Linked DNA regions of Homo sapiens: region 2 is linked to region 1. The links are contacts of gene promoters, found by promoter capture Hi-C in human tissues and cell types (Jung and others, 2019). All regions are on one chromosome and are shown on one strand. The core of a region is centred on a gene start or on the middle of the fragment in contact, and the rest is flanking DNA. Distances in the headings are between cores, read along the strand shown. Region 1 holds the start of CABP7 (calcium binding protein 7). Region 2 holds the start of NF2 (NF2, moesin-ezrin-radixin like (MERLIN) tumor suppressor).

What was found. Contacts are between HindIII fragments. The study calls those that stand out against the background at their distance.
Region 2: a contact is called between the fragment with the promoter of NF2 here and the fragment with the promoter of CABP7 in region 1, in 5 of the 25 tissues and cell types used here (adrenal gland, dorsolateral prefrontal cortex, liver and 2 more).

The regions. Positions count from the first base shown.
Region 1 is chr22:29,717,080-29,721,814 of GRCh38, forward strand. CABP7 (calcium binding protein 7) reads left to right here and starts at 2,924. Exons shown (of 5, transcript NM_182527.3): 1 at 2,924-3,454. The coding sequence starts at 3,346. It overlaps CABP7-DT (CABP7 divergent transcript), which reads right to left and starts at 2,824. Exons shown (of 3, transcript NR_186695.1): 1 at 2,469-2,824. RefSeq lists an enhancer at 4,233-4,735. The HindIII fragment of the contact is 29,567 bases long and covers 1-4,735 here.
Region 2 is chr22:29,601,330-29,606,064 of GRCh38, forward strand. It overlaps NF2 (NF2, moesin-ezrin-radixin like (MERLIN) tumor suppressor), which reads left to right and starts at 2,304. Exons shown (of 16, transcript NM_000268.4): 1 at 2,304-2,783. The coding sequence starts at 2,670. RefSeq lists an enhancer at 1,690-1,819 and a silencer at 2,070-2,649. The HindIII fragment of the contact is 17,440 bases long and covers 1-4,735 here.

The DNA of each region.
Region 1 (4,735 bases), core at 1,674-4,173:
CACCTCTCTCCCCTTGTCTCCTTCCCACTTGGGGAACCCCCCTGGAATCACAGGTTTCAGCGTGTCACCTCTCCCAGTGTCTCTAGCCTCCTGACCCAATGATTAGTTAGCAAGGCCTGTGGAGAACCCCTCTTGGGAGGACCTGAGGCTCAGGCATCTCCCGGTGGGCACCCCAGAGAGTGCAGTGTGATGGCAGCAGCACCTTCCCCAGATGGGGGAGCGACAGACATAATTCACACCCTGTGATCATGCCATCTGCTCCCCCGTGACGCACAGAGGAGAGGACGGGGCTGCAATGCCGAAGGGCGGGGGGCGGTGGTGAGCGGGCAGTCGTTCATTCACTAATTCTCTCGTTCATTCATTTGACAGATGTTCATCCAGCCCCAGCCACCTTAGCCCATTCCAGTCCTGTGCCAAGCGTAGGAGATCTGGAGAACCCAGACCCAGACCTGCCCTTCAGAGCTAAGAGAGGCCCTCTCACACTTCTGAGCTTTTGCCCACCCTCCTCTTGACCCCTGGAATTCCCTTGACTTGAAAAAAAAAAAGCCACCATGGGTTGGGAGTGGTGCCTCACGCCTGTAATCCCAGCACTTTAGTAGGCCAAGGCGGGTAGATCACTTGAGGTCAGGAGTTTGTGACCAGCCTGGCCAACATGTTCTCTACGAAAAATACAAAAATTAGCTGGGTGTGATGGCATGTGCCTGTAGTCCCAGCTATTCGGGAGGCTGAGGCATGAGAATAACTTGAACCTGGGAGGCGGAGGTTGCAGTGAGCCGAGATCATGCCACTGCAATCCAGCCTGGGCAACAGAGAAAGACTCCACCTAAAAAAATAAAAAAAAATACCCACCTGGACAGCAAGCCCAGGAGCTTCCCCTTCACAGGGCGAGTACCAACACGCTCTGCAGCGGCCTCCCAGGGAGTCACTGGGAGCTGGGTTTCCTGCCAGCCTCTCAGCAGGCTCTAGCCCACTCTCCCTTGGCCCAGGGGTTCTGATTTAGAACTGACAGGCCTGGGCTGGCACAGCCTGGACACTTAGTAAACGTGGAACGACTGAGCTGCTGCTGCGGCTCGCTCTCTCAATCAATACTCGAAGCTATAATTATTATTAATTCCTATTCCTTGGGGGGGATGTTCATGCTAATAGGAAACTCCCAAGAGTTTCAGGGAGGTGATGCCCGGCACCTTTCCTACATTATGTCACTTCATCCTCACCGCTGCCTGGGATGTGGCACTGCCACCTTAACAGGCAGGGAAACTGAGGCTATGGCCGGTTAAGGGACCTGACTGTAGTTCCATGGTGAGGAGATGGTGGATGCAGAAGCCCCAGTCTGCCTGGCTCTTGGTGCTGGGTTCTTACTTCCTCAAGTCTCTGCTCCATCAAAAACACTGGGGAAGCTCAAGGCATTCAGCTCTAGCGGTGGAAGGTCAGAAGATGGGACAGGTGGGCAAGGAGAGCTTTGGAGTGGGGTGGGAGCTTTTCTGGGGCCTCTCTCACCTCCAGGCCCAGGTCCCAGTGGGCAACCAGCTAGCCCGGAGAGGTCTGGGGAGACAGACAGACAGCTGGTGTCCTTCCTGGCTCCTCCGCAGGTTATAGATGTTTCTAGGAGCTCCCTCCAGAGCAGGGCCCAGGAAGTGCTGGGCCCAGGCTGACCCAACCCCGCTTGGCTGGGGCTAGCATCTCTCACTGAGCCCCTTCTCCCCAGACCCTGAGACAAGGCTGCGATTAATCAGTAACAAAAACAGAAACAAGCAGAAAAGTGTAATCAGCTTGGGAAGGGCAGGGCAGGACCGGGCAGGGCTGTGCAATCAGCGTTCCTGCTGGGACCTTTAGCTGATTGGGCCAAAGGGGGCAGGGAGGTGGTCCCAGTAGGGGGATTCAGGGAAGCACCCAGAGATGGGGCCACAGCCAGGCCAGAAGGTCACCCCCTCCCATGCACATCTGTGCACCATATGCCCACACCACTCCCAGCCCCAGGGCCTGCACACCTCCCCCGACCTGCCAGCGTACAACCTTGGCACACACAGGTGGCCACACACTCCCGACATTTGTCCATCTGCATATGGAGTCACAGACACCTGCGCACGTGCCCAGTGGCACATACACACCCTCATGGATAGCAGACATATGCACACGCAGGCTGCTCCCTCAAACACCTGCCCCCACCCCAGCTCTGGGGTGCCGACGTGCCCTGGGGCCTGGGGAAGCCCTGCACATACATTAGGTCTGAGCTGCAGCCATGTGAACTGGCAGGCCCTCACACCAGACCCCACAGGCACCGGGCCATGTCTCTGTCCCGAACTGCCCTGGGGGCCATGAGACACTTTGGCTCCTCTTCTGCAAGCTGAAAGGTAGGGGCTTGGGAAGGGTCCGGGACTGGGGCCCCATTGTGGGGAGCAAGGTCAGCGGCAGGGTGTCAGTCACAGGCAGGGCAGGAAGCCTACCCCAGACGTGTACCCAGCTCTTACCTGCTGCTCCTGCCCTGTGACCTTGGTCAACGTCCTTCTCTCTCAGCCTCAGTTTCCCCACCTTGGATCCTCCTGGCACGGAAACGGTGACTCTTCTTGAGGACCCAGGTGCTTGGGGCCAGTCTCACCTCTCTGGGTCTACAGTTCTTAGTTCCGGGCTCTCCGCTCCTGGTGCGTGGATGGGGGAAGGTGAGCCAAGGGGCAGGAAGGAGGACCCCCGCAACCCACCCCCTCCCTGGTCCTGGTGGCTGCAGACTTAGGGTGAGGAGAGCCAGTGAACAGAGGGGAGCCCTAGTGGGAAAGGGGAATCGGGGCCGAAGGGGAGAAGGAGCCCCGGGCAGGTTTGGGGCGGCCGCTCAGGGGCCGGCGGCGGGAAGGGGCGGGCTGGGGGTGGGGAGCGCGGAGGGGGCGGGCGGGCGGCTGGCGGGGGAGGCGGGGAGCGCAGCCAGCGCGGCACAGAACGAGCGAGCGAGCGAGCGGAGAGGCGGCTACAGCCTGAGCGCCGGGCCGGTAGCGGCCGCGCCGGCGAGCGGACTAGCGGGCGGCGAGCAGCGCGGAGCGCGCGGGGCACCGAGGAGCGGGCGCGGCGGGCACCGCGCGAGGCAGCCGGAGCTCTCGGAAAGGCCAGAGCGGCGCCGCCCCCGCTGCCCCTGCGGGGCCCCGGCTGGGAGCCCGACGAGGGAGCGGGCGGCATGGCCCGGCGGCCCGGGGCGCGGGGGCGCTAGGCCCCCGGAGGGGCGTCCCCAGCCTCGCCGCTGCCGCCGCCGCCCTCCGCAGCCGCGCGCCCCGCCCGCTCCAGCCGCCCCCGGGGCCGCCACCGGCCCATGAGCCCCGGCCTCAAAGTTTGCGGCGGGCGGGCGGGCGCGGAGCCTCCAAGATGCCGTTCCACCCGGTGACGGCGGCGTTGATGTACCGGGGCATCTACACCGTGCCCAACCTGCTGTCGGAGCAGCGCCCGGTGGACATCCCGGAGGACGAGCTGGAGGGTGAGTGTCCGCCGGGATCCCCGCCCCGGCGGCCCTCCTACCTGTGCGCCCAGGTGAAGCGCGGGCCAGGGGCGCGGGGGCGGGGGGCGGGGGGCGGTCCGCAGGTGCCGGTTGCCAGGTGGGCGCCCCAGCTAGCAGCTGTGCCCCGCGGCAAGACCTGTCCGCACCCCGGGGCGCCGCGGTGGGGGTCGCTCAGGCGGAGAGCGGCCCAGCCCCTGCCCGCGTGGTCCCCAGCGCTGCGGAAACTTGCCGGGCCCCGCAGCGGGGTCACGGGGCCGCGCAGTCGGCGGTGACGGTGCGGCAACGCGGCGGACTGGGGCGGGGGTCCGCGCTGAGCCCCCAGCGCCGGCCCGGCCGGAGCACCCGCATCCTGATCCCCTCCGCGGCGCCCGCCCGCGGCTCTCTGCTCGCATTGACATTCCGCTCGTGTCGCTTTAAAAATTCAATCTGCTCGGGCAGCAGCAGAAGGGGAGAGGGCGACTGCCCTGCTCTTGCCCGCTGCGGGGCCGCCCCCGTCCCCACCTGCGGCCGTAGCCCCTTCCCTGCAGCCCTGCGGGGACCCCCAGCCCGGCGCGCCGGGAAGGCGGCCCGGGAGGCGGTGGCGACAACAAGTGGCCGGACTGGGCGGCTAAGTCGCGATAGCCAAGCCTGGAAGGGAAAGGCAGAGAGGCCAGGACCCAAACCCGCCCCCACCCCGTTCCCCCTGCCTCTCAGACTCGCAGGGGGATGGCAGGCCGCTGGCTGGGCGAGGTCAGAGCAGAGGGCAGGGGCAGGGGTCCGGGACAGTGTGTCCTGAGGAGCAGTGAGACCCCTGGGGCCCGCCCAGCTCCTTCCCTGCTGGGCTGGGGGAGGTGCTGAGGTTTCCCCTCCCCCCAGACCTCCTGGAGCCCCCATATGGAGTGGAGTGGGGGATCTGGGCTGATGGGGGTCACGGCCTCCTGGGATCTGCATGTCTGCTGTTGCAAGGGGCTGAGCTCACCCAGAGGATGGGCCTCTCGGGGTACCTTGGATCCAGGGGTCTCTGAGATCTGGAGGCTCATTAGGGCCTGGGAGGGTGCAGCCAAGACCAGCACAGTCAGGGAGGATGGTGGGAGCCCAGGGGAAGCCATGGAGGGAGGTCCTCCCTCAACCCAGGCCCAGGGTGAGGGCAGATCTTAGAGGAGTCAGAATGGGTCGGGGGAAGATCCAGAGAGAGAAGGCAGCCTCTGCCTCGCTCACTGCACCATAGGCATGAGCCACCAGGCTCCTCACCAACTGCCCCTGCAAACCCTCAGAAGCGGG
Region 2 (4,735 bases), core at 1,054-3,553, 120 kb before region 1:
ACTACAGGCGCCCGCCACCACGCCCGGCTAATTTTTTGTATTTTTAGTAGAGACAGGGTTTCACCGTGTTAGCCAGGATGGTCTCGATCTCCTGACCTTGTGATCTGCCTGCCTCCCAAAGTGCTGGGATTACAGGCGTGAGCCACTGGGCCCGGCCCGGTGTCACGTATTTTTATCAGCAGCCATTTGTTGTCCCTGTGGGGAGCCCAGAAAACCCAGCCCGGTTCTCCCACCTGCGGGGAAGAAATGAAGCAATGATAATGAAGACACTCCCATGCCAAGCCCATACTGCCCTGAGCAATCAGTTTTGGTGGGGAGAATTTGCTAGCAGAAGGCAGGACATAAAGTCCCCACAGCAGCCTCACTGGGTGTGGCAGCAAATCATTCCTGAGGCCTGGCCGGTGCTACCAGGCACAGCAGGGGTCCGTGCAGAAGAACTAGATTTATTCCATTAATATACCGTTACAGCAACAATGTCTGCTGAGTACTCCGGAACTGTAATTCACATTTCCTGAGGCTGTAGTAGGGAGAATTTGGAAGCAGGGCAGCACAGTGCTAACCAGCAGGCTCTGGGTGGGACAGACCTGGGTTTGAGTCCTAGCTTTGCCTTTCACTATCTGCATTATAGTCAGCGAGTGGCTCTATCATATCTCTCAGTATCTTCACCTGTGGAGTTGGGGGGGTGATGCTAATGTTAGCTAACATTTATGGGGTGATTATTGTTGTTAAAACTCAGTACACCGGGCGCGGTGGCTCACGCCTGTAATCCCAGCACTTTGGGAGGCCAAGGTGGGCAGATCACCTGAGGTCAGAAGTTTGAGACCAGCCTGGCTAACATGGTGAAACCCCGTCCCTACTAAAAATACAAAAATTAGCCGGGCGTGGTGGCGGGTGCCTGTAATCCCAACTACTGGGGAGGCTGAGGCAGGAGAATTGCTTGAACCCGGGAGGCGGAGGTTGCAGAGAGCCGAGACCGCCCCATTGTACTCCAGCCTGGGCAACAAGAGCGAAACTCTGTCTCAAAACAAAAAACAAACGAAAAAACACAGTAAATTGTCCCTATTTGACTACTAAGAGCTATTTTAAAATAGAATTTATTATCTAAGTACAGAAAGGTGTAATTATCCCCCCTACACCCGTTAGAACCCTTGATGACACTAAATAAATAATACATGAATACGGTTCAAAAATGGGCATCATAGAGTATAAAATAAAGAATGCTTTCATTTTCAACCCAAATTCAGCAATTTCATAGGATGCCAGGCTCAGCTCTAAAGCCTTATATGTATTCAGTGCGCTGAAATTCAACAACCTCACGAGGTAGGTATAACCAATAATAATTCTAGGCGGGGCGTGGTGGCTCACGCCTGTAATCCTAGCACTTCGGGAGGCCGAGGCGGGCGGATCACCTGAGGTTCGAGACCAGCCTGACGAACATGGAGAAACCCCGTCTCTAATAAAAATACAAAATTAGCCGGGCGTGGTGACGCATACCTGTAATCCCAGCTACTCGGGAGGCTGACGCCGGAAAATCGCTTGAACCCGGGAGGCGGAGGTTGCAGTGAGCCGAGATCGCGCCACTGCACTCCAGCCTGGGCAACAAGAGCGAAACTCCGTCCCAATAATAATAATAATTAATAATAATAATAATAACAATAATAATAATAATTCTAAAGGGAAGCAGAGGGATCTGGCGGGAAAGTGCCAGCAAACCTAACAGGCCTCCACAAGTGTCTTTAAAGTTTCATAGGGGTCGGTATATGTGATTAACTGCCAAAGAAGAATATTCGCCGTGTGTCCGAAACGCAGTCCCCTGGGGCGCCACACTCGGAGCCTACTTGAACCGAAGAGTCCCTCCCTGGGCCAACGAAGGACCCAATTCCCCTCGCCCCGGATCCAGCCTCTAAGTGGTTTCCCGGGTAAGGTCAGCAGAGGTCCGCCGCCTCAACCAGTCTTGTTAGAGTAGGCACAAAAGCATTCAGAGTGACTGCCACTGTAGCCACTCAACGCCGAGCCTAGGCCTGCTTTTTTTGCAGTTAGAGTGAAACTTTCCATTGGTGGAGTCACCCCAAAGGAGGCGGGACGGAGCGGGAAAGTCCTGCCTACCTTGGCCTTCCCAGCCAATCGCAGCATCTATGCGTCAGCCTCCGGTTCGGTTGCGCTGCGCGTAGTGGTCTGGGCGACCTGAGGGCGGGGCCGGGAGCAGGCCCCGGGCTGTGGGGAGGGTGCGCTTCCCGCGGGCGCGCGGAGTGAGGACGGTGACAGCCACGCGCGCGCGTACGCGCCCGATGCAGCGCGGCCCCGTGACCCTAGTCGGCCGCTGAGAGGCGCGCGGAGTCTGGGCCGCTGCCGTCTAGGGGTCCCGTCCCGAGGCGTCCCCGGCATCTCCGGCCCGAATCCCGGAGTGCCGGGTCGCGCCTGCACCGAAGGTCCCGGCTCCTGTGCCCTCCCTGCAGCCGTCAGGGCCCGTCCCCCAACTCCCCTTTCCGCTCAGGCAGGGTCCTCGCGGCCCATGCTGGCCGCTGGGGACCCGCGCAGCCCAGACCGTTCCCGGGCCGGGCAGCCGGCCACCATGGTGGCCCTGAGGCCTGTGCAGCAACTCCAGGGGGGCTAAAGGGCTCAGAGTGCAGGCCGTGGGGCGCGAGGGTCCCGGGCCTGAGCCCCGCGCCATGGCCGGGGCCATCGCTTCCCGCATGAGCTTCAGCTCTCTCAAGAGGAAGCAACCCAAGACGTTCACCGTGAGGATCGTCACCATGGACGCCGAGATGGAGTTCAATTGCGAGGTAACCGGCCGGCAGCCCCGACTGCTGCGGTGACAGTCGAGGTGGAAGCTCGAGAGGTTCTCTTTATATCATCTTATGGGTGTAGCTAGAGACGGGCAGAACCGGAAGGGCCAACTAGGCCCAAAACCTCATGTTAAAGATGATTGCTGCTTTTTTTCATAGGACTTTTGGGTTTTGGCATTTCCTGAAGGTTATTTTCATTCATTGTTATTGGAAGAAGCTGGATGCTCCTGTGATAGAAAATTCAGGATTTCAGTGTCAGGCTTAAGTTAGGCTTACGCTTAAAAGCTTGAAAGTTTATTCTTTCATTAGGTAATATTGTTATGTACCCAGGTATTAGAAGTTGCGTCTTGTTTATTGGAAAGCCAATACTTGTTTCCCTTTTCTAAAGCTTGCATATTCTGGGAAAAAAAACCCTTTGAAGAACGATATAACATCTCATACTTACTTTCCACATAGTTTCCAACATGATGATAACAGCTATCAATTGTTCAGTATTTTCAAAGTGCTAGACATTTGCACATTTAATCCTCAGAACAAACCCATTTATCTAGTAAATGGCAAGGTGGGGTTTTGAACCAAGCTCACAGCCCGTACAGTACTGCTTCTCAAGTAATTTAAGTTCTTGCTGCTAAAAGTGTGGTTTGTGGACCAGCAGCATTGGCAGCAGTAAGCAAGGGTTGGCATGCTTTTTCTGTACAGGACCACATAGTAAATATTTTCAACTTTGTAGACTAGAGAATCTCTGTTGGAGTTATTCAACTCTTCAACTCTACCATTGTAACACAAAAGCAGCCTTAGATAAGATCAGCTTCCAGCATGACAGCTTAAGGAACCCATTCCTCTGTAAAACTGGTGAAAATTCTTTTTTGTTTTGTTTCGTTTTGAGACAGAATCTCACTCTGTCACCGAGGCTGGCATGCAGTAGTGTGATCATGGCTTACTGCAACCCTGACCAACCTCCCTGGCTCAATCAGTCCTCCTGCCTCAGCCTCTCGAGTAGCTGGGACCACAGGCGTGTGCCACCACACCTGGCTAATTTTTTTTTTTTTTTTTTTTTTGAGACGGAGTCTCGCTCTGTCACCCAGAGTGCACCGGGCTAGAGTGCAATGGCGCGATCTTGTCTCACTGCCACCTCCACTTCCAGGTTCAAGTGATTCTCCTGCTTCAGCCTTCCAGGTAGCTGGGATTACAGGCGTGCGCCACCTCGTCTGGCTAATTTTTCTATTTTTAGTAGAGACAGGGTTTCACCATATTGGGCAGGCTGATCTCGAACTCCTGACCTCGTGACCAGCCGACCTGGGCCTCCCAAAGTGGTGGGAAAGTGGTGCGATTACAGATGTGAGCCACCCCGCCCAGCCTCACCTAGCTAATTTTTGTAAAGACAGGGTTTTGCCATGTTGCCCAGGCTGATCTTGAACTCCTGAGCTCAAGCAATCCACTCGCCTTGGCCTCCCAAAGTGATGGGATTACAGATGCAGCCACCACGCCTGGCCCAAAAATTCTTTTTTTAAAATCAACTATTTAAACCCTCCGGCAATGGTCCTGAGGGCAAACAACAAATGAAAAAACACCTATTCAAGAAAATCTACAAATTCGGTAAGAAAGATGAGAGGGTATGGTATTTGAACCAAGATCATTCCCTCCTTACTCACTCCTAGCTTAGTGAGGTGGAGCTTCTACTCCAGACTATTGCAAACTGTAATACCGGGCACTGCTCCCCCAGCTCCCAATCAAATGCTTTCTTCCCAGGAAAAGCAGGACATCAGCATTTCTCATCCTACCTAGAGCTACTTGTTGCTGAGGTTAAAACCTGTGTGAGTGCAATTGAAAGTTGGAGCTCTCTTTTTTTTTCTTTTGAGACGGAGTTTTGCTCTTGTTGCTCAAACTGGAGTGCAATGGTGTGATCTCGCCTCACCGCAGCCTCTGCTTCCCGGGTTCAAGCGATTCTC